Linked DNA regions of Homo sapiens: all the other regions are linked to region 1. Evidence: promoter capture Hi-C in human tissues and cell types (Jung and others, 2019). All regions are on one chromosome and are shown on one strand. The core of a region is centred on a gene start or on the middle of the fragment in contact, and the rest is flanking DNA. Distances in the headings are between cores, read along the strand shown. Region 1 holds the start of FOXG1 (forkhead box G1). Region 2 has its middle 240 kb from the start of PRKD1. Region 3 overlaps LOC105370429 (a long non-coding RNA gene). Region 4 has its middle 26 kb from the start of PRKD1. Region 5 has its middle 99 kb from the start of PRKD1. Region 6 overlaps PRKD1 (protein kinase D1). Region 7 overlaps PRKD1 (protein kinase D1).

The links. Contacts are between HindIII fragments. The study calls those that stand out against the background at their distance.
Region 2: a contact is called between a fragment that was not itself captured here and the fragment with the promoter of FOXG1 in region 1, in 1 of the 25 tissues and cell types used here (dorsolateral prefrontal cortex).
Region 3: a contact is called between a fragment that was not itself captured here and the fragment with the promoter of FOXG1 in region 1, in 1 of the 25 tissues and cell types used here (mesendoderm cells).
Region 4: a contact is called between a fragment that was not itself captured here and the fragment with the promoter of FOXG1 in region 1, in 3 of the 25 tissues and cell types used here (dorsolateral prefrontal cortex, heart right ventricle and lymphoblastoid cells).
Region 5: a fragment that was not itself captured here is called in contact with the fragment with the promoter of FOXG1 in region 1 in 1 of the 25 tissues and cell types used here (dorsolateral prefrontal cortex).
Region 6: a fragment that was not itself captured here is called in contact with the fragment with the promoter of FOXG1 in region 1 in 1 of the 25 tissues and cell types used here (dorsolateral prefrontal cortex).
Region 7: a fragment that was not itself captured here is called in contact with the fragment with the promoter of FOXG1 in region 1 in 1 of the 25 tissues and cell types used here (lymphoblastoid cells).

The regions. Positions count from the first base shown.
Region 1 is chr14:28,764,387-28,768,036 of GRCh38, forward strand. It overlaps FOXG1 (forkhead box G1), which reads left to right and starts at 2,401. Exons shown (of 1, transcript NM_005249.5): 1 at 2,401-3,650. The coding sequence starts at 2,894. It overlaps FOXG1-AS1 (FOXG1 antisense RNA 1), which reads right to left and starts at 933. Exons shown (of 7, transcript NR_125758.1): 1 at 774-933. RefSeq lists an enhancer at 1,532-2,056. The HindIII fragment of the contact is 7,501 bases long and covers 1,850-3,650 here.
Region 2 is chr14:30,166,472-30,170,436 of GRCh38, forward strand. No RefSeq gene overlaps it. Among named protein-coding and RNA genes, the nearest start is that of PRKD1, 240 kb to the left of the region's middle. The HindIII fragment of the contact is 3,678 bases long and covers 348-3,965 here.
Region 3 is chr14:29,932,732-29,936,569 of GRCh38, forward strand. LOC105370429 (a long non-coding RNA gene) reads left to right here. Exons shown (of 3, transcript XR_943703.2): 3 at 3,060-3,319. Among named protein-coding and RNA genes, the nearest start is that of PRKD1, 6.8 kb to the left of the region's middle. The HindIII fragment of the contact is 5,901 bases long and covers 1-3,838 here.
Region 4 is chr14:29,951,514-29,955,457 of GRCh38, forward strand. No RefSeq gene overlaps it. Among named protein-coding and RNA genes, the nearest start is that of PRKD1, 26 kb to the left of the region's middle. The HindIII fragment of the contact is 4,705 bases long and covers 135-3,944 here.
Region 5 is chr14:30,025,455-30,029,080 of GRCh38, forward strand. No RefSeq gene overlaps it. Among named protein-coding and RNA genes, the nearest start is that of PRKD1, 99 kb to the left of the region's middle. The HindIII fragment of the contact is 4,284 bases long and covers 1-3,626 here.
Region 6 is chr14:29,789,383-29,792,872 of GRCh38, forward strand. The region is part of intron 1 of PRKD1 (protein kinase D1); the gene reads right to left. Among named protein-coding and RNA genes, the nearest start is that of PRKD1, 140 kb to the right of the region's middle. The HindIII fragment of the contact is 3,911 bases long and covers 1-3,490 here.
Region 7 is chr14:29,916,842-29,920,490 of GRCh38, forward strand. All of the region lies in intron 1 of PRKD1 (protein kinase D1), which reads right to left. Among named protein-coding and RNA genes, the nearest start is that of PRKD1, 9.2 kb to the right of the region's middle. The HindIII fragment of the contact is 3,093 bases long and covers 1-2,882 here.

The sequences.
Region 1 (3,650 bases), core at 1,151-3,650:
CCATTATAAGTGGTGGTGAGAAGGGGGGCTGTAAGAGGAGAAATTGGGAGGAGTAGGTGGAGGAATGGAGAGACAGAGGAATGGAGGGTGGGGGGAAGGGGCGGGGGGAGCTAAGGGAGAAGGAGGGAGGAGGGAGGAAGGAGAGTTGAGGAAAAGTAGGAAGAACGGGCCTGAAGAGGGGAGAAGAGTGGGAGGAGGAAAAGTGAGTAGGAAGGGGAAGGCCCACAAATCTCTCCAGCCGGTAGGCAAAGCCCATTAGCTCACCCGGCCCTGCGAGAAATCCAGAGCTTGGAAATAAATGTTTGGGACCATGTCACTATCAACACTGATTGTTGGAACCCTTGAATTTTTCCACATGTAAATACAGTTTGTTTTAAAGTGAGAAGATATGTAGACATAGGTAAAGATACATACATACAGTGGAAGGACATTTGAGGTTAGTCCAATATTCAAAGCTCCTTTGTGGCATTCCTAATAGATGCATATTTAAAATTCACTAGCTATTTGTAATTATCTATTATTCTCTCCAGTTTCCTCCCCCCCCCCCAACCTTTTCTCTCTTTCTCTTTCTTAAGACTGGGGGTGGGGAGGATGGAATAACCCCCTATTATCCTGAGTATTCATCAACCGCATTCTTTATGTTACAATTTAACTTTAGGATCAAGCATAAGCACCAATTTTCCTTCCTTCGTTTTCTTAAATACCAAATCTGCCAGATATCTTAATGAAAGTTTATCCAAGTGAAGAAATGCTTACATTTTATAATTATTTACCTTCTAGAGGAAGGAAAAGGTGCCTTTCATTTATGCTTCTCCACCTCCCTCTTCTCTGGGGCTACATCCTCCGTAAAATGTGGTATGTTTCGTGCCCATGTGGGATGAAACAGCCTTTGATCAATGTGCTCCCCACTAAATTCCAATCCCTGGGAAATGCTGGGCCTTAGCCCTGCCCCTGGCCACGGGATCCTTTTAAAGCCCCCGATTCGCAATTTCCCCATTCACTTCAACCTCCAACCGAACCTTCCCAGTTCCAAAGCCCAAGAAGCTGGGACTGTGAGATCCACGTTCCCAAGGCTCCCCGGTGCTTTCCAGCAGCACTCAGGGTTGGCAAGAGCTGGCTTCAGTATACTGTTATTTCAGGAATGAGGCCCGCACAAAATAAAAGCATTTGAGAAACGGAAAGGAAAAAAAAGGAGTGAAAATAGGAAGGCTTAAAAAAAAAACCGGAAAGAAATAGACGCCCACCCTTATTTTCCCTCCAATGTCAACAAGCAAAACGAAAATATTTCCAGGGTGATCGCTCGCAGCTACCCGCTTCCAATTCGGATTAGAAGCTGAGGCTGGAGCGGCGAGGAGAAAACGACATCGAGTCACCCCGCGCGTGAGCGACGCTCTGGAGCAGGAGAGAAGGAAAAGGAAGAGACACACGTATATAGCATGTGTTACCTGATTTATTTCGAGATTGTTTGGTACTGTTTTCTCTCTGGGCACCTCTCATTTCGGAAGGCCATCAGAGGCGCCCACTACTGAGCGGCCCCGGCCGCCGCAGCAGCACCCGGAGCCCCAGTCCCGGTTTCCCCGCGGTGCCGGAGCCCGGAGCTCGCCGCCGCCCAGGCCTCAGGAATCGAGTAAGTAACCCCTGTTTGGCCCCGCGCTCCTCTGCCCACTTCCTCCTCCTCATCTCATCGCTCCCAAAGCTCTCCCACACCCTCCTCCCCCGAAGTAAAGGACACCCCCGCACACACGCCAGCGGTGGGCCTTATCTCCCCCCTTATCCAAAGCTGCGCTAGACTATTACCTACAAAGGGCACAATTTTCCTGCTGGCTCAGAAATGCCAGACACTGGCCTGCAAGGCCGACTCGGAAAAGTAGTGCCTCGCCTCTACCTCCTCCATTTCCTGCCCTCTCGCATCCTCTCCCTGCACTCCCACTCTTCCCACTACCACCACCACCCCCGCTTTCAAAAATAAAATTGGATACAAACTTTAATCACTAAGGACAAATATTGACGCTTAAACGAAAATGACCCAGTACAATGAGGAGGAAGCCGGAAATGTGAGCTATTGGCCCTAGGAGGGGAATTTCGGTGGAGCGGAGCCGGCGGGGTGGAGGGGGTGGCGGGGGCGCAGGGAAGGGCTGCGGCACCGCGTGCTCCCGCCGGCGTATCCCTACGCGGCTCCGCGCGGCCTCGGGGTCCGAGGCCCGCGGAGAGGGGGAGGCGAGCGCCCGAGGGGGCGGCAGCCGGCGGGCGGGGCGGGGGTGGGTGGGCCCGGCCCCTCCGATTGGTCGACGGCGAGAGAGACGCTCCCGCACGCCGCCAGCTCTGATTGGCCCAGCGGTAGGAAAGGTTAAACCAAAAATTTTTTTACAGCCCTAGTGTGCGCCTGTAGCTCGGAAAATTAATTGTGGCTATAGCCGCCTCGATCGCTGTCTCCCCAGCCTCGCCGCGGCCGCTCCGGGACGCGCCCGCCCGCCGCCCGGCTCTCCCCCCCTTTGGGCTGCTGCTGCTGCTGCTGTGACTGCTGCTGCGAGAGGAGGAGGAGGAGGAGGAAGCAGCGGGGGGGGGAGCGGGGGGTGGGGGGGGAGACCAAGAAGTACAGTTGGGAGCGAGGGAGCTTCACCCCCGGGGCGGTGGTTGTTTCTTTTTTCTTTCTTTCTTTTTTCTTTTCCTTTTTTTTTTTTTTTCTAATTCCTGAGGGGTGGTTGCTGCTTTTGCTACATGACTTGCCAGCGCCCGAGCCTGCGGTCCAACTGCGCTGCTGCCGGAGCGCTCAGTGCCGCCGCTGCCGCCCGCGCCCCCCGCGCCCCGTTCGGCACCCACCGGTCGCCGCCGCCCGCCGCGCCGCTGTCCCGCTCCCGCGCCGCCGCCGCCGTTTCCCCCCGACGACTGGGTGATGCTGGACATGGGAGATAGGAAAGAGGTGAAAATGATCCCCAAGTCCTCGTTCAGCATCAACAGCCTGGTGCCCGAGGCGGTCCAGAACGACAACCACCACGCGAGCCACGGCCACCACAACAGCCACCACCCCCAGCACCACCACCACCACCACCACCATCACCACCACCCGCCGCCGCCCGCCCCGCAACCGCCGCCGCCGCCGCAGCAGCAGCAGCCGCCGCCGCCGCCGCCCCCGGCACCGCAGCCCCCCCAGACGCGGGGCGCCCCGGCCGCCGACGACGACAAGGGCCCCCAGCAGCTGCTGCTCCCGCCGCCGCCACCGCCACCACCGGCCGCCGCCCTGGACGGGGCTAAAGCGGACGGGCTGGGCGGCAAGGGCGAGCCGGGCGGCGGGCCGGGGGAGCTGGCGCCCGTCGGGCCGGACGAGAAGGAGAAGGGCGCCGGCGCCGGGGGGGAGGAGAAGAAGGGGGCGGGCGAGGGCGGCAAGGACGGGGAGGGGGGCAAGGAGGGCGAGAAGAAGAACGGCAAGTACGAGAAGCCGCCGTTCAGCTACAACGCGCTCATCATGATGGCCATCCGGCAGAGCCCCGAGAAGCGGCTCACGCTCAACGGCATCTACGAGTTCATCATGAAGAACTTCCCTTACTACCGCGAGAACAAGCAGGGCTGGCAGAACTCCATCCGCCACAATCTGTCCCTCAACAAGTGCTTCGTGAAGGTGCCGCGCCACTACGACGACCCGGGCAAGGGCA
Region 2 (3,965 bases), core at 937-3,436, 1.4 Mb after region 1:
AAGCTGAACAATAAAGTCTAATGTACTTGTTTAGAACATCAGAATACCCAATATCTGTAGTGTCACATAACATATTTCTCTATATCTTCCAACCACTTTCTTGGTATTAAATTTTTAAAGCTTGGGATATCATGAATACTGGTAGGTTCACCCTGTGAGGAACCTACACACTGATTTATTCCTTTATTTCTCTCTCAATCTCATTCTATACGTATGACTAACATCTATTAACAATAAAGTTTGTATGGTCATTTCACTTTAACTTTCAAAAAACCTCACCTGAAAAGACTTTGAATGCAGAGAAGTGATGAGACTCGGCGAAAAATAAGCAGTCATCTAAGAAGTAGGGCATGGTGAATCCCTGCTATCCATCTCAGAATGTTTGAGGAGATGTAGGTCTTAGTTGCCCTGCATAGTGCTTTGTTGAATGTTCTGATAAGTGAGTGTTTAATTAATAAGACGCACACCTCTAGAAGCTGTTAATTAACTCTTTGGGGCCTTTAGGGTATGAATCAGTAAGTCAACATGGTTTCTACGCAGTATGACACTCTTGAGAAATAGGAAGAATCATGAAGCTTCCAATAGTGATCAACAAATTTAGAGTCATTTAGAACTCTAACAAGTAAGCTGAAATACCACCCTAGAATTTTGTCTTAATTTATTTCCTTCTGTATTCAAATACTTTAAATCTGATTGATCCCACAGTATTAATAATTAGGGAAAATCTTTTATCCATGCCTTCAGAGAAGAAAGAGTAGGCCAAGGACCCATTTTCAATCCACTCTTAGAGAGGGCTAAAATTAGCAATTGGCTTTGCATAGGAACCCATTTTTTTTCTAGTAATACAGAAATATGTAACTACATCTAAATCTAATGCCCCCCACTTCACAAACACACATTAGAGGGATTCAATAACCAAAAATTTTTCCTTTCTTTTTTTTGATTGAGAGAAAAGTGGATTTATTTAAACAAGGATAAACTCTTGAGGGGCACATAACATAGTGGTTATATGAAGCCTTTGAGGTCACTATGCCAGTGTTCAAATTCTAGTCCTGCAGCCTGATAAATTTTTGTAGATACCACTACCCTATAACCTTTTCCTCACTCAGCCCATTGAGTCAGAGATGTCCACCATCCAGTATGGCTGAAATGAAAAGTAAAAGCTCAGATTTTTAGTTTCTAATTTTTATAAAATCGATAGCAGAAACAATTACTTATATTTCTATATTTTGAAGAATTTTTTAAAGAATTGCTTGAGAAGCAAAAGTCTAAGTCTGTAAAGGAAAGAGGCTTAAGGTTTTTCCAGAAACAATGTGTATTAGGCTGTTCTTGCATTGATATAAAGAAAAACCTGAGACTGGGTAATTTATAAAGAAAAGAGGTTTAATTGGGTCACAGTTCTGTAGGCTTTACAGGCAGTATGGTGCTGGCATCTGCTCAACTTCTGGGGATGTCTCATAAAGCTTACAATCACTGCAGAAGGTGAAGAGGGAGAAGGCACATCACATGGTGAAAGCAGGAGGAAGAAGGAGAGAGGTGGAGGGGCAGATGCCACACACTTTTAAACAACCAGATCGCATGAGAACTAACTCCCTATTGTAAAGACAACACCAAGCCATGAGGCATCCACTCCCATGATCAAAACACCTTCCACCAGGCCCTACCTCCAATATTGGGGATTACAATTCAACATATGATTTGGGTGGGGATACAGATCCAAACTATATCATTCTGTCCCTAGTCCCTCTCAAATTACATATTCTTCTCACATTGCAAAATACAATCATGCCTTCCTGACAGTCCCCGAAAGTCTTAACTCATTCCAGTGTTAATTCAAACGTCCAAAATCTCATCTGAGACAAGGCAAGTCTCTTCTACCTATGTGCCTATAAAATAAAAACAAGTTATTTACTTCCAAGATACAATGAAGGTATGAACATTGCATAAACATTGCCATTCCAAAAGGGAGGAATTGGCCAAAAGAAAGGGGCTACAGGCCCCATGCACATTCAAATTCCAACAGAACAATCATTAAAATTTAAAGCTCCAAAATAATCTCCTTTGACTCCATGTCCCACATCTAAGACACATTGGTGCAAGGGGTAGGCTCCTAAGGCCTTGGGCAGCTCTGCCCTGTGGCTTTGCAGGGTTCAGCCTCCAGGGCTGCTCTTATGGGTTGGAGTTTAATGCTTGTGGCTTTTCTGGATGCAGGGTGCAGCTGCTGGTGGATCTACCATTCTGAGGACTGGAGGATGATGGCCCCCTTCTCACAGCTCCAGTAGGCAGTGTCCCATTGGGGACTCTGTGGGGGCTCCAGCCCCACATTTTCCCTTGGCATTGCCCTAGTATAGGTTCTCTGTGAAGGCTCCACCCATGCAGTAGCCTTCTGCCTGAGCACCCAGGCTTTCTCAAACATCTTCTGAAACCTAGGTTGCTAAGCATTCTTCATTTTTGCATTCTGTGCACCTACAAGCTTAACACCATGTGGAAGCCATCAAGGCTTATGGCTTCTATTCTCCAAAGTGGCAGCCTTGGCTGTATCTGAGCTCCTTTGAGCTGAGGCTGGAGCCAGAATGGCTTGGATGTGGGTAGAAGTGTCCTGAAGCGGCATAGGACAGCAGAGCCCTGGGTCTGGCCCATGAAACCATTCTTCCCTCCTTGACCTCTGTGTCTGTAATGGGAAGTGCTGCCTGGGAGATCTCAGAAATGCCTCCGAGGCCTATTTTCCATTGTCTTAGCTAGCAGCACTTGGCTTCTTTTTAGTTATACAAATTTCTCTAGCAACTGGTTGCTCCACAGACTGCTTGAATTCCTCTCCCCAAAAACCATTTTCTTTCTCTGCCACATGGCCAGCCTGCAAGTTTTCCAAATTTTTATGCTTTGCTTCTCTTTCAGATAAAAGTTCCAACTTTAAATCATTTCTTTGCTCCTTCATCTGACTGTAGGCTGTTAGAAGCAGTCACGACACACTTGAACAATTTGCTACTTAGAAATTTCTTCTGCCAGACATCCTAGGTCATCACTCTCAAGTTCAAACTTCCACAGATCCCTAGGACTTGAACACAATCCAGTCAAGCTCTTTGCTAAGACATAACATGCATAACCTTTACTCCAATACACAATAAGTTCCTCATTTCCATCTGAGACTTTGTCAGACTTGCCTTCACTGTCCATATCACTATTGGTATTTTGGTCATAACCATTTAATCAGTCTCTAAGAAATTCCAAACTTTCCCTCTTCCTCCTTTCTACTGATCCCTCCAAACTCTGTCAACCTCTGCCCATTACCCAGTTGCTTTCACATGTTCAAGTATCTTTATAGCAGCACCCTTCTCTTCAGTACCAGTTTTCTGTGTTAGGCTATTCTTGCACTGCTATAAATACCTGAGACTGCATAGTTTATAAGAAAAAAGGTTCTCATTGTTCAATTCCCCAACATGGAACATGTATACATATGTAACTAACCTGCACGTTGTGCACATGTACCCTAAAACTTAAATTAAAAAAATAAAATAAAAATAAAAAAAGAAAAAAGGTTAATTGGCTCACAGTTCTACAGGTTGTACAGGAAGCATAGTGACATTTGCCTAGTGAGGCCTCAGGAAGCTTCCAATCATGGTGTAAGGGAAAGGGGGAGGAGGAACATCATATGGCAATAATGGGAGCAAGAGCAAGAGAGTGGGAGGAGATGCCACACACTTAAACAACCAAATCTTGTGAGTACTCTCTATTGCAAGAATGGCACCAAACCATGAGGGATCTGCCCCTATGATCCAAACACCTCTCACCAGGCCCCACCTTCAGCATTGGGGGTTATAATTCAACACGCAATTTAGGCAGGGACAAACATGCAAACCATATCACAACGCTTGGAAAGAACACACAGTTGGCCCTTAAACAACAGTGGTTTAAACTGCATGGTCCCCTTACACTCGGATTTCTTTTCAGCCAGACTCTGATCAAAA
Region 3 (3,838 bases), core at 245-2,744, 1.2 Mb after region 1:
CTTGGGAGGCTGAGGCAGGAGAATCACTTGAACCCAGGAGGCGGAGTTTGCAGTGAGCCAAGACAATGCCCTAGCCTGGGCAACAGAGCAAGACTCCATCTCAAAAAAAACAAAAAAAGAAAGAAAGAAAGAAACCAAATTTCTAGGTATGATCCTAGAGTCAGAGACCCTGAAAGGACAGGAGGCCCTTGAAGAAAAGCTTTCAACTATAAAATCATAAATGATCCAGGTGAGGAATAAATGCAGAAACCAGTGTGACTACACCTCAAGTTTTGGATAAGTACAAACAGGCCAAGAAAATGAACAAAAATAGAGATAGGTATATGAACAAGAGTAAATAGAAATTATTATAAGCTAAAAACAATCAATTAGCTTTAATAGTTCCATGTTATATATGAACGATGCTCTTGGGGAATTTTATGTTATGTTATAGAACAAGGGCTTATGAACTACTTCTTATGAAAGACTTAGGGTTCTCTCTAGGCCCTAATGGGTACAGTTAGACATCCTGCCTCACTTTCAACCAAGCAGCTCTCCTTTCATTTGTTAATATACCAGGGTCCCACAAATTTGTTTGAAAATAAAAGTTCCTATTGCTAACAAATCTGAAATTCTTTAGTGTGGTAGGATGTGAATGAGCTCTGGGGAAAAGGCTGATCTAATTTTGATGCTAAATCTGCCACTTATTAATGTTGTGGCTCAGAGGAGAGATGGCTGGTTTCTTACCTGACCATCTCCACTAACTGTGGCTGGAGCCACAGTCACCTCATTGGTAAAGTAAAAAATTACACTACTCAAGAGTTGTGAACATTAAATGATTTAGTTTATATAAAAGCACATAACACAGTGCCTGCCACAAATACTAGCTATTAATCACCCCAAAATACTAGCTATTATCAACTATATTAGTCCAAACATCATTCCTGCCAGCCACATTACTTACTATAATGTTAAAACAACAGAGAAAACAAGCCTAACTCCATTTTGCTTGGTTTCTCTAGCAAGATAAAAGGATGTAAAAAAATGGTTAAAAGAAAACTGAAGCTCAAAATAAATGAAAAGATGGTCACACATTATCTAAATAGGGGATGAGCATTCAAATAATCACAAGACTGTACTGATGGATGTATTGCAAATATCTTAAAGTATTCTTGGAGAGAAACAAATGTCTTGATTTTCAAAAAGATTTCAAAATGTAGACCAGTGAGTTTAGCATCAATAATCAGCAACATTCTAAATCAGATTATTTAAACAAATGGTTCGTGAAAAATTATGAATTAAAAGTAGTTCCTAAAAGCAGGCATGAGTTAACTAAAATAAATGTTGTTATATTACTTGCTCTTCTAACTTCAAATTGGAGGAGGACATTACAGATATTTGTTTTTTCTGAATTTCAACCAAAATTGAACTATTTTGGTTGTCTTCACTATTGGAGGACATTTTTATCTGCTTATGTTCATCAACAGACTGAAAGAATAAATCCAGCTACCAGTGTTTAAGTTGTTACAAGAAGGGAGAATGAAGGAAAAGTTCGTATCCGTGGAACCAATGGGCCTTGAAAATAGGATTAAAAGAATTACATCTTTATTAAAAGAAGTTTTAAAAAGTAGTGCTGCTAATGGTTTCTTCAAGCTATATTTCTCTAACTTTTAAAGGCATGAGTAAACTTCAAAATTTTTTGTCCAAAACGTTGATGATTTTAACCATATGCTTTTTATGTACATCCAAAATACCTACCTGCATTTACATTTTTATGTTATGTTTTTTGGTAAGACTTGATTTCCTAAATATCATTCCATCCTAGACAGTAAAAACTCTGCTATTCTCATAAGAACTAACATCTGCTGGCTCCAAGGTATCATAAAATTTGCTCAGGTTCCCTGTAGAAAACAGAATGAAATCACCAGTCTAACACTTTTTCCTTCAACTTCAATATACTCAGAAGGCTATATTGCTTAGAGTTGCCAACTCTAATTGTGCACATTGGCTTTTACTAAGTCAATCCAACATTCAAATTCAGAAACCATTAACAGCAGCACATTTGTTTTTCATAAAGATGCAATTTTTCTAATCCTATTTTCAAGGCCCATTGGTTCCAGAAATACAAACTTTCCTCCATTCTCACTGGATGAGTGTCATAGCTAAACATCTTCTAGTATGAATATCAATATATCCCATTTGTTGATATTATTCTATAAACTAGTTTACTCTCTTTAATACATGTCATTTTATGAGACTTTACATTTTTCATTCAGTATGTTTTACTAAAATCAATGACTAAATTTTGAAAAGTTAATAAAACAGAATAGAGGTACAATTAATTCAAAGTTACTTTTTGGGTTTCTTCCTGGAAAAAATATTTTTGAGCTGAAATTTCTTGTGTGTGGTTTCTGTTGCTTGATTTGGAAAATACAAATATTTAAGGGAAAGAATCTGGAAGATTTATTTCTTGGTGACATAACCAGGGGAAAATAGTTTTTAATAGCTTAAGAAAAAATAATTTGCTTTTCTTGGCTTAGAAAAATTTTAAATGGCATTATTTCTAAAATTCACTTATTACTATAATATACATATTCCACTAGGATAAAAGTCTACATAATTAAAATAAGATGATTTACATGGAATTGAAATTACATTTTATTTAATCATCATCTGCATTCTTTTTACTAATTCTTATCCTCAAACATACAATCCTAAAAATTATTTATGTTGTAAGCACACTGACCTTCTTTGTCTTACATTACTTTTTAAAAATTTAATTATTTACTTATTTGATCTCATATGTATTTGAACTAAAAAGCTCTGCTCCATATATCTATAAATAGAATATTTACTTCATGAATTAAATATTTTATATATATTTTTTAACTATATAAAGTCTTTCCATATTAATATAATAATATGTATTTTTATAAATACATTTTGTTTTGTTTAATCAGTCAGTTATCTAGAGTATCCAGGAAAACTGAAGTCCTCAAAAACTGAAAAAAGCATAACATTTTAGATTTGTTTCACAGTGTATTCAAGAAAAGGACTATGTACTTTTCTTACTCTTTTAGATGAAGAAGAACATTCTAAGGTCCCTAACCTTTGCACTTTGCTGCTCCGATTGAATGTCAAAGTCGACAAGTGTCAATAATGGAATTTGAATGCTTGTTGGTTTGTCTGTGCAACAGCAGTTCTATCAATGCTCAGAACGTCTTGGTCTTCCTTTATTTTTTCTTTCAATACATGTTCATCTAGATTTGACCTTCCAAATTGGACTTTTAAAAAATCACTTATTTGGCCAGGCGCAATGGCTCACACCTGTAATCCAAGCACTTTGGGAGGCCAGTTCGAGACCAGCCTGGACAACATGGTGAAAACCTGTCTCTACTAAAAATGCCAAATTTCCCAGCACTTTGGGAGGCTGAGGTGGGTGGATCACGAGGTCAGGAGATCGAGACCATCCTGGCTAACACGGTGAAACCCCGTCTCTACTAAAAATACAAAAAAATTAGCCGGGCGTGGTGGCAGGCGCCTGTAGTCCCAGCTACTCAGGAGGCTGAGGGAGGAGAATGGCATAAACCCAGGAGGCGGAGCTTGCAGTGAGCCGAGATTGCGCCACTGCACTCCAGCCTGGGTGACAGAGCAAGACTCCGTCTCAAAATAAATAAATAAATAAATAAATAAATAAATAAATAAATAAATAAATAAAATGCAAAATTTAGCCGAGCATGGTGGTGAGCGCCTGTAATCCCAGCTACTTGGGAGACTGAGGCAGAAGAATCTCTTGAACCAGGGAAGCGGAAGTTGCAGTGGGCCGAGATCCTGCCACTGTACTCCAGCCTGGGCGACA
Region 4 (3,944 bases), core at 1,237-3,736, 1.2 Mb after region 1:
TTCTAAATTAAATCTTAAGGTTTGTTTATTTGTTTATTTAATTTTTTGAGACAGAGTCTCGCTCTATTGCCCAGGCTGGAATGCAGTGGCGCCATCTCGGCTCACTGCAAGGTCCGCCTCCCGGGTTCATGCCATTCTCCTGTCTCAGCCTCCTGAGTAGCTGGGACTACAGGCTCCTGCCACCACGCCCGGCTAATTTTTTTCTACTTTTAGTAGAGACAGGTTTCACCGTGTTAGCCAGGATGGTCTTGATCTCCTGACCTCGTGATCCGCCTGCTTCAGCCTCCCAAAGTGCTGGGATTACAGGTATGAACCACCGCGCCCAGCCCTTAAGGTTTCTTGTAAAGTTTTTTTGACATTAATTATTTGACATAATAATAATGTCAAAAAAAACTTTTTTTTTTTTGAGATGGAGTCTCACTCTGTTGCCCAAGCTGGAGTGCAGTGGTGCAATCTCGGCTCACTGCAACCTCTGCCTCCCAGGTTCAAGCAATTTTCCTGCCTCAGCCTACCGAGTAGCTGGGATTACAGGTGTGCGCCATCATGCCCAACTAGTTTTTGTATTTTTAGTAGAGACAGGTTTTTGCCATATTGGCCAAGCTGGTCTCGAACTCCTGACCTCAAGTGATCCTCCCACCTCAGCCTCCCAAAGTGCTGGGAGTACAGGCGTGAGCCACTGCACCCAGCCCTGTTATGTTCTAATGAATAAAAGGACTGCTATGTTCAGCTTTCTCCATTTATGAACAATATATATTAAAAAAATATATGCATATGTGTGTGCACACACATACAGATATAGTCTCTGTGGAATGTGTAGATTTTCCAGTCATGTTGAATTCCTTATAAATATGATCAAATAAGCCATGCTCAAAAAATACACACATCCTCTATTTATATTTTAATGAAGAACTGTACATCTTAAATTGATAACTCATACAAACAGATTGAAAATAATAATGATGAATTTGTTGATTCAGTTGCCACCTAGAAGTTTCCTTCAAATATAAAGTCTGAAAGATAAGAGTGATATAATCAAATGTCAATTATGTCTGTAGACTCTGTACTTGTAGGGATATTGTTTACAATATTACATCTTGACTCTAGATGTTTCTTAGTAAAATTATACTTATGGTTACCTTGCTAAAAGTATGATACCACTTATTTAAGAACCATTTCTATGTTACAAATATATGAGATAAAGGCAGATATAATTATTAAAATATTTCCACAAGTTTTATGAAATATTTTAAACACAATAGCCATATGTAGTATACATTTGTCATTTTTGGCTGCACATCTTTTGAAAACCCACCTGAATTTTTGTATTTACCACAAGATAAATTCTGTTTTCTCAAGATACAATTTTAAAACTGCATTTCCCAGCTTTTCTTGTGCCCAGAATTACAGGCAGGGACCAGTTTCCAATAATCATTTCCACCTACATTATGTCTTCAATTTGGAAGTGATCAAGTAGGGAAAAGCTCTGGCAGAGCACACATTTTTTTTTCTGGTGGCTGTGGAGTTGGCAGTGTCACAGGTAGCTTCTCCCTTGGGACTGTTTTCGAAGCAATTCAGAAATTGGCAATAGACTATGGGTATTGTTCTGGTGAGCTTACCCTGTTTATTACCCTAGCACAATCAATGAGTATACATGCTATCTAGTATCTTTAATAAATATCTATTCTGCTTAATCTGGGTGGAATGAATGGGTTTCCTTGCAACTAAGGTTGTTTAATAGAATAATTTGTATTAAAAGTGCAAGGAACCTTCAAGGAAATGAGTATCTGGGATTCATTATCTGGAAGGTTGGATTTGAAAGCTCTGAGAATACAATTCGTTCTAGAGAAAAGAGCACTGGTACCCATGGCATACTAAAATGAAACACTTGCTTATATTTATCATCTGTGCTCTTGGTCACCTGGAATAATGTTACTATAGAAGGCAAGGAAGTAGGGGAGTTTATGCTTACAAAAGTACAATGGACATGAAGCACGTAAGAGCTATAGGGTGACTTGGCTACTTCTAAATGTGCTTAAGCTTTGAAAGAAAGGAAAGAACACCTTAAAGTTTTAAATTCTCAGCTCAATGTAGTAAAAAAGCCAGGGCGATAACATGATTACCCTAAAATTAGCTCTCCTCTCTGCAGGACTGATGAAACTGAAAATTAAATGCACAGTCTAATGCTGTGGTTTCTCAATTACGTCAGATGAATTCTAACGGTACCATGACTCTTACTGAAAGTTAAGACACTTCCATGGAATTGTAATCGAGACAGATGGGAAAACCCTGAAAACTCAGAGTACTTTGAACACTCAAATTTACTAAACATCCCTTAGTAGAAGAAATAGCTTTTTCTCCAGGGTTTAATCGGTTGTTCCTGCTTCCCTGAAAACCATGTAAGCACGTTGCCTGAGGCAGTTACCTCAGGAGGTGGTATAACTTTCTTCACAACCCATTCCTGACACCTTGCAATGCCTTGGACCCATAGCTAGTGTCAGAGTCCAGAATGCTCCAAGAAGCTAGGGCAAAATTAAACCCAGGAAGAAAAGGCTTACCCACCAAAGGAAAAGAAAAGCAATGTTTTGCCAAGTTATATTAGCAACTACCTGCAGGAATATATGTGAGAAAGCATTTTAAGGTACGAAAGCAGTACAAATGAAATATAATGTATATGGAAGCAATACTTTAAATATGGGTCCAGAAAAAGGAAAATACATGATTTCTAAAAGCCATAAAAAACAGATACAAGCATCTTTGAAAAGTGTGCAGTATCTATTCCCTACAGGATGAAAACAAAGGTGGGAGATGCTGCCATTAATATGAGCCTCATTAGCAGCACTTAACCACGTTGTGATAATCTGAGTGGTTTGACACACACTTTGCCTTGCTGATTGATTAGGGGGTCCCTGGGTCTGAAAACGTTGTGTAACCATTAAGGTCCCACTTGATCTGTATAAGTAATACAAAAACAAATAAACAAACAACAACAGCAGCAGCAAGTAAGCCTAGAAAACAGACTCCAGGATTGTGCCTCCACGCCATGGCTCCGAGTCAATTCACAACACAGAGTTTCTTGAATGAAGAGTAGGCTGAGAATTCTTGAGGAGGAACCCATAACCAACCCACTCCTTGGATAATGGTATTAATTTATTGATGAAGGCAGAGCCCTTATGACATACTTACCTCTTAAAGGTCCTACCTCTTAATACTGTCACAATGGCAATTAAATTTCAACATAAGTTTTTGAGGGAACATTCCAACCATAACACCTGTAGACACCTGCTTTTTCTTTCTTGGTGATCATGTAAATGTCTATAGATTAACATTTCCCATGCCCTACCTTTTCTAATAATTATTATATTTTTCCATAGGTTAGAAAATATCCAGAAAAAATTGTGAATAAATCAGAGGAGAAATGGACATTACCCAGATGTCAGGCTTGAAGCTTCATAAAGTAACTGAAGAGAATTTGGAAAACAGTAAGCGTGTTTTAATTATAACTGATATTTATATTATACAAGGTTGGAACATAGTATTGTTGCTATGCTTTTGTAAATTTAATATGGTAGAAGAATATATAATGATTTTGTCAGCTAAAAGTTGGGCTGAGAGAGACATCACTCATTTATGTTTGCCTGTCAAATACATTTTGAACAACCACTTTGCATTTTTATATTTTGCCACACTCTAAATTCTACTTTCTCAAGGTTGATTTCATCTTAAAAACTCCCACATGTCCTAGAGAGTCTAGTAGCTAGGTTGTGGAAATGTGGCTATGGTTTCATCAGTCAGAAACATTCATGCAAGACAATGACTCAGAAGTGACCTATGTGCAAAACGTTTACGTATAGTAATTTTTTTCTTATTTTTTATTATTATACTTTAAGTTCTAAGGTACATGTGCACAACGTGCAGGTTTGTTACATATGTATACATGTGCCATG
Region 5 (3,626 bases), core at 492-2,991, 1.3 Mb after region 1:
GCCCTCACCTTATTACATCCTGCTGCACCCTAGCTACCACTACCATCACCATCATCTTCAACCCCTTTTCACCATACATAAGATTTTGAGGGCTTTGGCAGTAACTCACGTTCCCAATTTTTTCCACTTTCTTTCTCCCATCAACATTTTCCTCTTTGGTTTCCCATCCCCTCAAACCCCTACTGTGTGGAAATGACTGGTGATCAATCAATCAAATCAATAGATCAGATAAACCCATTCCTCAAGATGGGTTGGCGGGTTATTTTTATAAAAGTAAATTAGATGTTTTCTCTGCACTTTCAGGCTGAGAACTAAGAATATAGATCCAGAATTTTTAGTAGAACTACCCCTAAAATAAAGTCAGGATTAAAACATAATAAGCAGCAAGTGCTACTGTTATTCAGTTGCCTCCTAGGAGTGGGACTGAATTGATTGTCAGTTTTAGAGAGTGAAAATAAAGCAAGGCCTATCCAGGAATTTGAGATGAGGTGATTCCACAATGAAAAACTGGTCCTACAGATTTAAGCAGCAAATAACTGTTTAAAGGCAAAAGGGGCCAGGCATGATGGCTCACACCTATAATTTTAGCACTTCGGGAGGCCGAGGCATGTGGATCACCTGAGCCCAGGAGCTCGAGACCAGCCTAGGCAGCATGGCAAAACCCCATCTCAACAACAACAACAACAAACACAAAAATTAGCTGGGCATGGTGGCATGCACCTCTAGACCCAGCTACTCAGGAGGCTGAGGTGGGAGGATCGCTTGAGCCTGGAGGGTGGAGGCTGCAGTGAGCCATGATTGTGCCACTGAACTCCAGCTTGAACAACAGAGTGAGACCTTTTCTCAAAATAAATAAAGAAATTAAGCCAAAAAAGTGAGAATAATCCAGAAAGAAGGCTTCCTCTTAAGTGTTCTAAAAGGATAGCTTCTCTTCCCCTCTGAATCCTTTATAACTCCATAGAAAACAGTGGAAAGGATAACAATAAATGCAGAATGGCATATACCCACCCTACATCTGACCATGTCACCTGAATGTCAGGAAAAGGCCTAATTATGTTCCTTGGATCCTATTAGAATTCAAGAGAGTCTAATTAATTACATTGCATTTCTCCTAACTGAACGTATTTGATATAGTTTGGATATTTGTCCTCACCCAAATCTCATGTTGAATTGTATTCTCCAGTGTTGAAGATGGGGCCGGGTGGGAGGTGTTTGGATGATGGGGGATGATCCCTCATGAATGGCTTGGACTATCTCCTTGGTGATAAGTGAGCTCTCACTTCAAGTTCACACGAGACTGGTTGTTTAAAAGTGTGTGTCACCTCCCCACTCCACACACTCTGTCTTGCTCCTGCTTTTGCTTCCTGATGCAGCTGCTTCCCCTGCTAGCTTCTGCTATGATTCTTAATTTCCTGAGGCCTCCCCAGAAGCTTAGCAGATGTTGGTACCATGCTTCCTGTAGAGCCTGCAGAACCATGAGCCAATTAAGCCTATTTTCTTTATAAATCACCCAATCTCAAGTATTTCTTTATAGGAATGCAAGAATGGCCTAATACAATATTCAAACACCAAACTTTTGCTGATACCTTCTAAAGTGATTTAATATTTAGCTGGATTAAGATACATTTCTCTTTTGTTTTTGTTTTTTGTTTTTCCTTCAACTTTTAAGTTCCAGGGTACATGTGCAGCATATGCAGGTTTGTTTCACAGGTAAATGTGTGCCATGGTGGTTTGCTGCATAGATCAACCCTCACCTAGGTATTAAGCCCAGCATCCATTAGCTATTCTTCCTGATGCTCTCCCTCCCTGCACCCTACCTCCCAGTAGGCCCCAGTGTGTGTTATTCTCCACCATGTGTCCATGTGTTCTCATCGTTCAGCTCCCACTTATAAGTAAGAACATGTGGTATATGGTTTTCTGTTCCTGTGTTCATTTGCTGAAGATAAAAACTTCCAGCTCCATCCATGTCTCTGCAAAGGATATGATCTTGTTCCTTTTTATGGCTGCATAATATTCCATGGTGTGTATGTACCACATTTTCTTTATCCAGTTTATCATTCATGGGCATTTGAGTTGATTCTATGTCTTTGCTGTCGTGAACAGTGCTGCAATTAACATACACATACATTTACCTTTATAGTAGAATGATTTATATTCCTTTGGGTATATACCCAGTAATGGGATTGCTAGGTTAAATGGTATTTCTGCCTCTAGATCCTTGAGTAATCTCCATACTGTTTTCCACAATGGTTGAACTAATTTACAATCCAACCAACAGTGTAAAAATGTTGCTTTTTCTCTGCAACCTCACCAGCATCAGGTGTTTCTCGACTTTTTAATAATCACCATTCTGATGGGTGTGAGACAGTGTCTCATTGTGTGTGTGTTTTTTTGTTTTTGTTTTTGCTTTTTTTTTTAGATGGAGTTTCACTCTGTTGCTCACACTGGAGTGTAGTGGTGTGATCTCAGCTCACTGCAGTCTCCACCTTCTGTGTTCAAGTGATTCTCTAGCCTCAGCTTCCTGGGTAGCTAGGATTACAGGTGCCCACCACAATGCCTGGCTAATTTTTGTGTTTTTAGTAGAGACGGAGTTTTGCCATGTTCGCCAGGTTGGTCTCAAACTCTTGACCTCAAGTGATTCGATCACCTTGGCATCCCAAAGTGCTGGGATTACAGGCATGAGCCACCGCGCCCGGCCCTCATTGTGGTTTTGATTTGCATTTCTCTAATGATCAGTGATGTTGAGCTTTCTTCATAGGTTTGTTGGCTGCCTGAATGTTTTCTTCTGAGAAGTGTCTGTTCATATCCTTTACCCACATTTTAATGGGGTTGTTTGTTCTTGTAAATTTGTTTAAGTTCCTTGTAGACTCTAAATATTAGACCTTTGTCAGATGAATAGATTGCAAAAATTGTCTCCCATCCTGTAGGTTGTCTGCTCACTCTGATGATAGCTTCTTTTGCTGTGCAGAAGCTATTTGGTTTAATTAGATCCCATTTGCCAATTTTTGCTTTGTTGCAATTGCTTGTGTCGTTTTCATCATGAAATCTTTGCCTGTGCCTATATCCTAAATGGTATTGCCTAGATTTTCTTCCAAGTTTTTATAGTTTTGAGTTTTACGTTTAAGTCTTTAATCCATTTTGAGTTAATTTTTGTATGAGGTATAAGGAAGGGGTCCAGTTCTAATTTTCTGCACATGGCTGGCCAGTTTTCCCTGTTATTGTTTATTTTTGCCTATTTCAACTTTCTTTTTGTTCTTGTTTTTCTTGTCTGCTTTTTTTTCATCTCTATATTTGACTATAGTTTTCTTGATTACAGCACTCCACTGTAAAAAGACTAATTTGTAAGTATTTTGGAAGAGTGAAAATATAGTTTAATTCAGATAATAAAGAACCTTGACTGATAGACTAAATAATGTTAGGGAGAGGCCACTGAAAGCATTTGAACTGGGAAAGAAGTGATGAAAAAGTGTTGCTGGATCCTAGTGTAAGAATGGGCTGCAAGATGTTGAAATAGGTATTCATTTTTAAAGTAAAAACTAACATAGATGATTATGGCAAAAAAAGAAAAAAAACTCACAAAAAACAAAAAACATTCACCTTCAATAGTAGACTACCTCAAACTGGAT
Region 6 (3,490 bases), core at 512-3,011, 1.0 Mb after region 1:
TGGCTTTTTGGGGGAAGACTTTTTCCTACAGATATAGCTATAGTGCTGGTTGGGTTGAGTGCTTAGGCTTTGATTCTGGGTGGCTGTGTTGGTATAGTGTGTTTATAATTTCTTTGACTCTATCAGCATTAGTGGTGTCTGTGAGTTCCTCAGTGGCTTGGGCTGTCGTGAGACTGCTGGTAGTGGGCTTGGCAGGCTGGTATCCAGGCACCTAGGTGGTGCCTATAAGTGAATGCCAATGGTGGCAGGCTGGGCAGGCCAGTCTCTGGGTGCCCAGGAGGCACATGAGCACCAGTGCACATGGGCCCATCTTTACACCCCTAGACACCATGCATGTATATCAGTGGCAGCAAGAAGGGTGGGTATATTGTCAGGCCCCCGGACAGGAAGTGCAGCCAGTAGTGCCAGTGAGTAAGGTGTGTCAATTCCCAGGCACCCAAATGACACATGAGTGTCAGCCATGGCAGGTGAGGTGGACCTGTCTTCAGGCTCCCTGATAGTGTATGCAGACACAAGTGATAGCAAGCCAGGTGGATCAATCCCCAGGCCCTTGGATAACACATTTTCACTGTTTATTTCATAATAAAGATGCAAACTAGTTAGAAGCATTACCAAGCAAGTTGTCTTTTTTTTTTTTTTTTTTTTTTTGAGATGGAGTCTCACTCTGTCGCCAGGCTGGAGTGCAGTGGCACAATCTCAGCTCACTGCAACCTCCACCTCCTGGGCTCAAGCGATTCTCCTGCCTGAGCCTCCTGAGTAGCTTGGACTACAGGTGCGTGCCACCACGCCCAGCTAATTTTTGTATTTTTAGTAGAGATGAGGTTTCACCACCTTGGCCAGGATGGTCTCGATCTCTTGACCTTGTGACCTGCCCGCCTCAGCCTCCCAAAGTGTTTATAAGTGTTTATGGGATTACAAGTGTGAGCCACCACGCCCACAGTCTAATTATTACTTAGATTTCATCATTCCAGCTAAAAAAAAGATTCATAATTTATTCAATAACATAGTGATCATGTGCCATAAATACTGCCAGTTATTTAGTTTTGCTTTTTGAATAAAGAAAGAGTTGATCCCTCTTATTGATATAAGCATTAATCAATTGACTGAGTTTAACAATCCCTGGAATTAGCCAGCCCCACGGGATTTTTTAATTTGGCTTAACCTATCTACAACATCATGATTTCCCAATGTCTATGCTAGTTTTTAATCTCATTGCTCATATTTCTGTAAAGTTTTCTTCAATTTTTAAGCTTATAATGATCTCTAAACTATACATCCTTCTAAAGAACTTGGAATCACTGTTTCACAGGGCCTTTCTTGCCCATACCATAAAACTATTAGATTATGACGATATTTTATTCATTCACTCACAGAACAAACAGTAGTAAGCTTTAACTATACACAAAGCCCGGTGAACAACAACAAAAAAGTTAGTCTTGCATTTTAAAGAGTAGATCTTAATCTACTAATTATGTAATTCATTACATGATTATGATAGTCATAAGTGTTACAGAGGTGTACAGGATGCTGTGAGACCATGTAAAATGAAGTTCTAACATAGCTCCTCTTCAGTCTAGGTGACCTCAGTGAGCCCTAGCCTTACCAGTCACTTATAGAATCCATGGTCTGCTATTGTATTCACTCACATGTGTGGAAAACCAGGTGACTAAAAGACAGTAGGGGAAACTTCAACAAATACATACACAAAATAAATATGAACCAGTGTATAAACCAATCTTTAAATATACACAGAGATTTTCCCATCTAAAGAGAAAACTATTGTTTGACCATTTTTTCCTTGTAGGGAAAGTGAAACTGTCTCTGATTTTCCCTCTACCTCATCATTTTATCATTTCCACGTAATAACATGCATTACAATTCCCAAGCAACATGATAGGTGCTTTCATATGTGTTACCTTAATTATTTAAACTACTTAACCAAGGTAAAGTTGACATAAAGTACACATATTTAAAGTAGGCAATTTGATAAACTTTGTCATATCAATGTAACACTGAAATTACCAGATAATGAACATATCCTTCATCCCAAGGAAACAAATGCATCACCTCTCATATTCCTCCGTACTCTCTCCCTTAGCTGTTTCCTACCCGTCAATTCCAGACAACCACTGATCTGCTTTTCCTCACCATAGATTAAACTGCACTTTCTAGAATTTTCTAAAAATATTATGTACTCTTTTTATGTGTAATGTCTTTCACTCAGCATAATTATTTTCAGATTCACCCATGTTGTAGCACATATCAGTATTTCATCCCTTGTTATTGCCAAATAATATCCTATTGTATGGATATGCCACAATTTGTGCATCCATCTGTTGATGCACATGTCAGTTATTTTCAGTTTTAAGTTATTCCAAATAAAGCTATTATAGACATTTGTATATAATTCATAGTATAGATAGATATACCACACCAAGGTATGGTAAATTTCTCTTAAGTAAGTACATACTCAGGATTGGAATAGCTGGAATATATGACAGGTATTTGTTTAATATTTCTTAAAAGTTGCCGAACTGTTTTCCAAAGTGATTGTGGTATTGTATGTTCTCACCAGCAGTGTATGAAACTTCCAGTTCCTTCAGATACTCACCAACATTGGGTACAGTAAATCATTTTAATTTTAGCTATTTTTCAGGTGTACTTAATTGATTTCTCACTCTATAAAAATGACATATAATCCCATGTGATAGATCAACAAAACTGAAGCTCTGCCAGCATTTTCCCTCCAATGCAATAAATTACTAAAAGTTCCTTCAAAGTACACAAAATCGTGTTCTAATATAAAAATATGAAACTTAAAGTCAAAATTATTATGTTAGCTAATATATAATTGAACTTCCTTTCTATAGATTTATGTCACAGTAAAATTAGCACACAAGTTAGTTTTAATCTCAAGAACAGACTAGAATATGAAATTGTGTTAAAATGAAATATCTTATGTAAGGTCAGAAGGTCCAAATTTTAATACTATAATTCTGTAGATGTAGGGAGGATGAGATACTGCTTTGGTGTTATTATCAAACATTAGTTAACACTGTGAACATTTCACATATCAACTTGTCTCAAATGTTGTTACAAATATTTATAGAGAATAATTGTATTCACTATTTAAAGTTTCGAAGACCAAAGCTTGGCACAATTTGTGCTTGTGAAATTCCACCCTGGATGCTAAAATTTGGTGACCATTATAAATAAGTCAACAAAAGTGGGAAGGAAATAATTTTGTATCTCAGTGACAGCGGCAGTCAGGAAAATTTCTAAAATGTCTTAAGTGCCAAGACATGGCATTGTTGAAAAACTCAGGCAAAAAGACAAGTTTCATTGTCTATATGGAAACTTGCAACTCACAAATACCTGGGCATAGCAATACTTGTGAAGAAAGTAAGTAACATTATGGAAACTAGACGGAAAAAATAATTCAAATTGACTTAGCAAGATTTTAGTAAAATAACCAGTGTTAAAGTGCTGC
Region 7 (3,649 bases), core at 86-2,585, 1.2 Mb after region 1:
CTGAAATGTCTTCGAACTCATCCTAGTCCCTCTGCCAAATGCTCCCTTAAGTGTGTTCCTCCCTAAATTCTAACCATGATCTCCTAACACTCTGAAAAGGACATAGCCACTTTTTGTAATGATAAGAACTCCCTGGTCTAACCCAAGAGGCCCTACCAGAACACAAGCCTACCACCATTTCTGAACAATGTGAGGAGTTAGAAGGGAGGGGGGGAAATGTTCATGTTTAATTGATAAAAAGCTTAAGAAAGAGTGTCTTTAATAAACATTTGACTATTGATAAATGGCCTAATTCAATCAAGTCTCTGGAACTTAATTCTAGCACCTGAACTAGAACTGAATCCCCAGTCTCTTTCTAGCTAGTCATTCACCCAAAACAAAGAAATAGTTCCATAATCATCCTGTAATTATTATGTCATTAATATGATGGATTTAGACAACCTAGGAAAAGGCTCTGTATTTTTGGTATGGCCAAAACTGACAGTTTAAAAACTTTTATTAACACTTTAACCTAACAGATTAATCTTAATAATTAATGAAAAGTGCTTTGATTCTTAAGAAAGTTTGAAATTTACATCAACATAAATGTCGGTGAATAAATTTCAAGCAAAAATTCCTAGTCAAAAGTCAACTTAAACCATTTACAAAAAAAACAGCAGGCTCATGTAATGATACATGGATTTCATATTTGAACAAATTATTTTAGTTGATGTAGAAATACGTTTCTGTTTGTGACATATCAAGTTAGAATTTAATTATATTCAGATTCTTTTTATTCTATTGTTTACGAAAAAGAAAAGAGATACAGCTCTTTATTTAAAATGCTGAATACCCTTTTAATTTTATCTTAACCATCTATTACCTTGTGAAAAACTTTGTATACTGAAACAAGCTTCAACTGTCAAGATACAATACTTCATACCTATACCACAGTTCTTCCAATGCCTGGTTGAAAATAAATAATGAAACAAAATAAAACATAACGCAATAGGATCCTTACTTGGACTGATGAAAAAAATGTGCTATGAACTGAAGAGTATGATTATAGCAAATCTACATACCTGTAGATAATTTTTTAAGTAAAAAATAGATTTTTTTAACTTTTATTTTAGTTTCTGGGGTACATGTACGGTTTTGTTACATAGGTAAACTTGTGTCATGGGGGGGCTGTACAGATTATTTTGTCACCCAGGTACTAAGCCTAGTACCCCAAAATTGATTTTTTCAAAGCAGGAAATATATTGCCTGATTGTAGATTTTAAATGTTCTCACCACACACACAAGAAAAGATAAGTCTGTGAGATGATGGACATGTTAATTAGCTTGATTTAATCACTGCACAATGTATACATGTACCAAAACATTATATATCATAGTATATATAATTTTTATTAGTAAATTATACCTTAATAATGCTGGGGAGGGAGAAAGAATCTTGTAGGATCACCTGCAGTGTTACAAAGGGAACTCAACGTGAGACAGGTAATTCAAACAGTCAGAACTATGAAAATATCAAATAGTAATTTACAAAAATGTAAAAGAAAAACACTTATTATGACCCCAATGACACCAAAAATATGTACCATATGTACAATTTGATTAGGAAGCTTCTGAATATATTTTCAGATGGTGCTAACCATTAGATCTCAATGTTCACCTGCTCACAGTAGCTGAAATACTTGCCGTAACACAAGTGGTGACCCTTTAATCTAATGTTCCACTTTTCTGGCCTTTTCAATTTACCACTTGACTCTTTATTTCTAGTTTTTAACTGCCCCTTCAGTCCTCTCCTCCCCAATCTCTCTGACTGTACAAGACATTGTGTGAAATAATGTCAATACTTTTGCAAAAGCCTGTATAACATGCCACTCCTAACCAGAATTGCTATGGAATCAAACAAACTGAAAAATAAAAATGTTCATGATTACTGTGGATATTTACATAACTGCAAATAAGCAATCTCTTTAATCTTTTCACCCTACACTGAGCAATTGCTCAGGTTGAGAGAATCACCTAACTGTAAGAACACTGAGTGTAGGAAAAAATCAAACTAATTATCAACAACACCATATATTATGCACATTCATACTTTTCATTCATATTTTCATTACTAAATTAATACTTTTCAACTGTTTTATAATATATGCGGGGAAAAGTGGCTGCTGACAATTAAGGAGAGAAGCATTCAGAAATTCCTGAAATTGTGCCTAAAAACAAGCAATACATTCACTAGTTCCTCATCAATCAGTGGTTTAGTCAGAATAGATGCCAATGAACTAGTGAAGGGTGTATATTTTTTTCCTTTTCACCAAAATAAGTTGAACAAAATTCCTGTGTGATTGCATATTTTAAAATCTAAGTTTCATGTTTGCCAACATTGCTAAGCTACTATATCAATTGTCTGGCTTAAGCCAAATAAAACCTTTCATAACTTTGGAAGAAACTTCTACACAGGAAACTGTAGATTTAGACAGCCGAAATTTGTCTGAATATGCATTGTTTTTGTACCAGTTCTTAACTATTTAAATTATATGATATTCCATAACAGCCATAGTGGCCATATAATTGAACACTCTGTATATTTAATGATCTGTTTTTCTAGATGAGACCAGAAAAAGTAAGAAACAGAACAACGTGAATTTCTCTGCTGCCAAATAACTTCAAGTGGTGCTATCACAACTGGTTTTTAATGGCACAAAAATATTTGGTTGACAGTATTAAAAGAATTCCTGTGGGAAATATCTCATATTCTTATAGATTAAAAAATGTTTTGAATAGTTGTAAGGAAAATCACCATTTTCTTTGTATCTAAATTCTATCAATAGAAAGAGGGAAATGAGGCTGAGCGCAGTGGCTCATACCTATAATCCTAGCACTTTGGAAGGCCGAAGCAGGTGGGTCATCACTTGAGCACAGGAGTTCAAGACCATCCTGGCAACATGGCAAAACTCTGTCTCTACTAAAAATACAGAAAATCATCCAGGCGTGGTGGCACATATCTGTAGTCTCAGCTACTCGGGAGGCTGAGGTGGGAGAATCACCTGAGCTTGGGAAGTTGAGGCTGCAGTGAGCTCAGACGGTGCCACTGCACTCCAGCCTGAGTGACTAAAGTGAGACCCTGAGAAAGAGAGAGAGAGAGAGAGAAAGAGAGGAAGGAAGGTAGGAAGGAAGGAGGGAAGGAAGGAAGGAAGGAAGGAAGGAAGGAAGGAAGGAAGGAAGGAAGGAAAGAAGGAAGGAAGGAAGGAGAAAAGAAAAGAGAAAAGGAAGAAAGGGGAGAAAGAAAAGAAAAGAGAGAAGAAAAGAAAAGGAAGGAAGGAAACAAGGAAGGAAGGAAGCACTTGTCTTGTTTTGTTCCAACATATTCCAACAATAAGGAAAGATTTAAGAAATTGAAGTCTCATTTTCAAAATCACTCTAAAGTAATGCTGGGGAAATTAAAAGATGAGTAGTATCTTTTATTATTAAAAAACACCCTATATTTTTACCTCTATTGCCACATTTGGGTTTAGATTTTTCACCTTAAACAAGGTGATGGCGCAAGGTCAGAGGTCAAAGATTACCCTGATACATAAATCAAAGCAAACAAATATAAAAACAAAGCAAGGAAGGAAACTTCATGTTACCATCAACACCTATAAGACTGCATTCT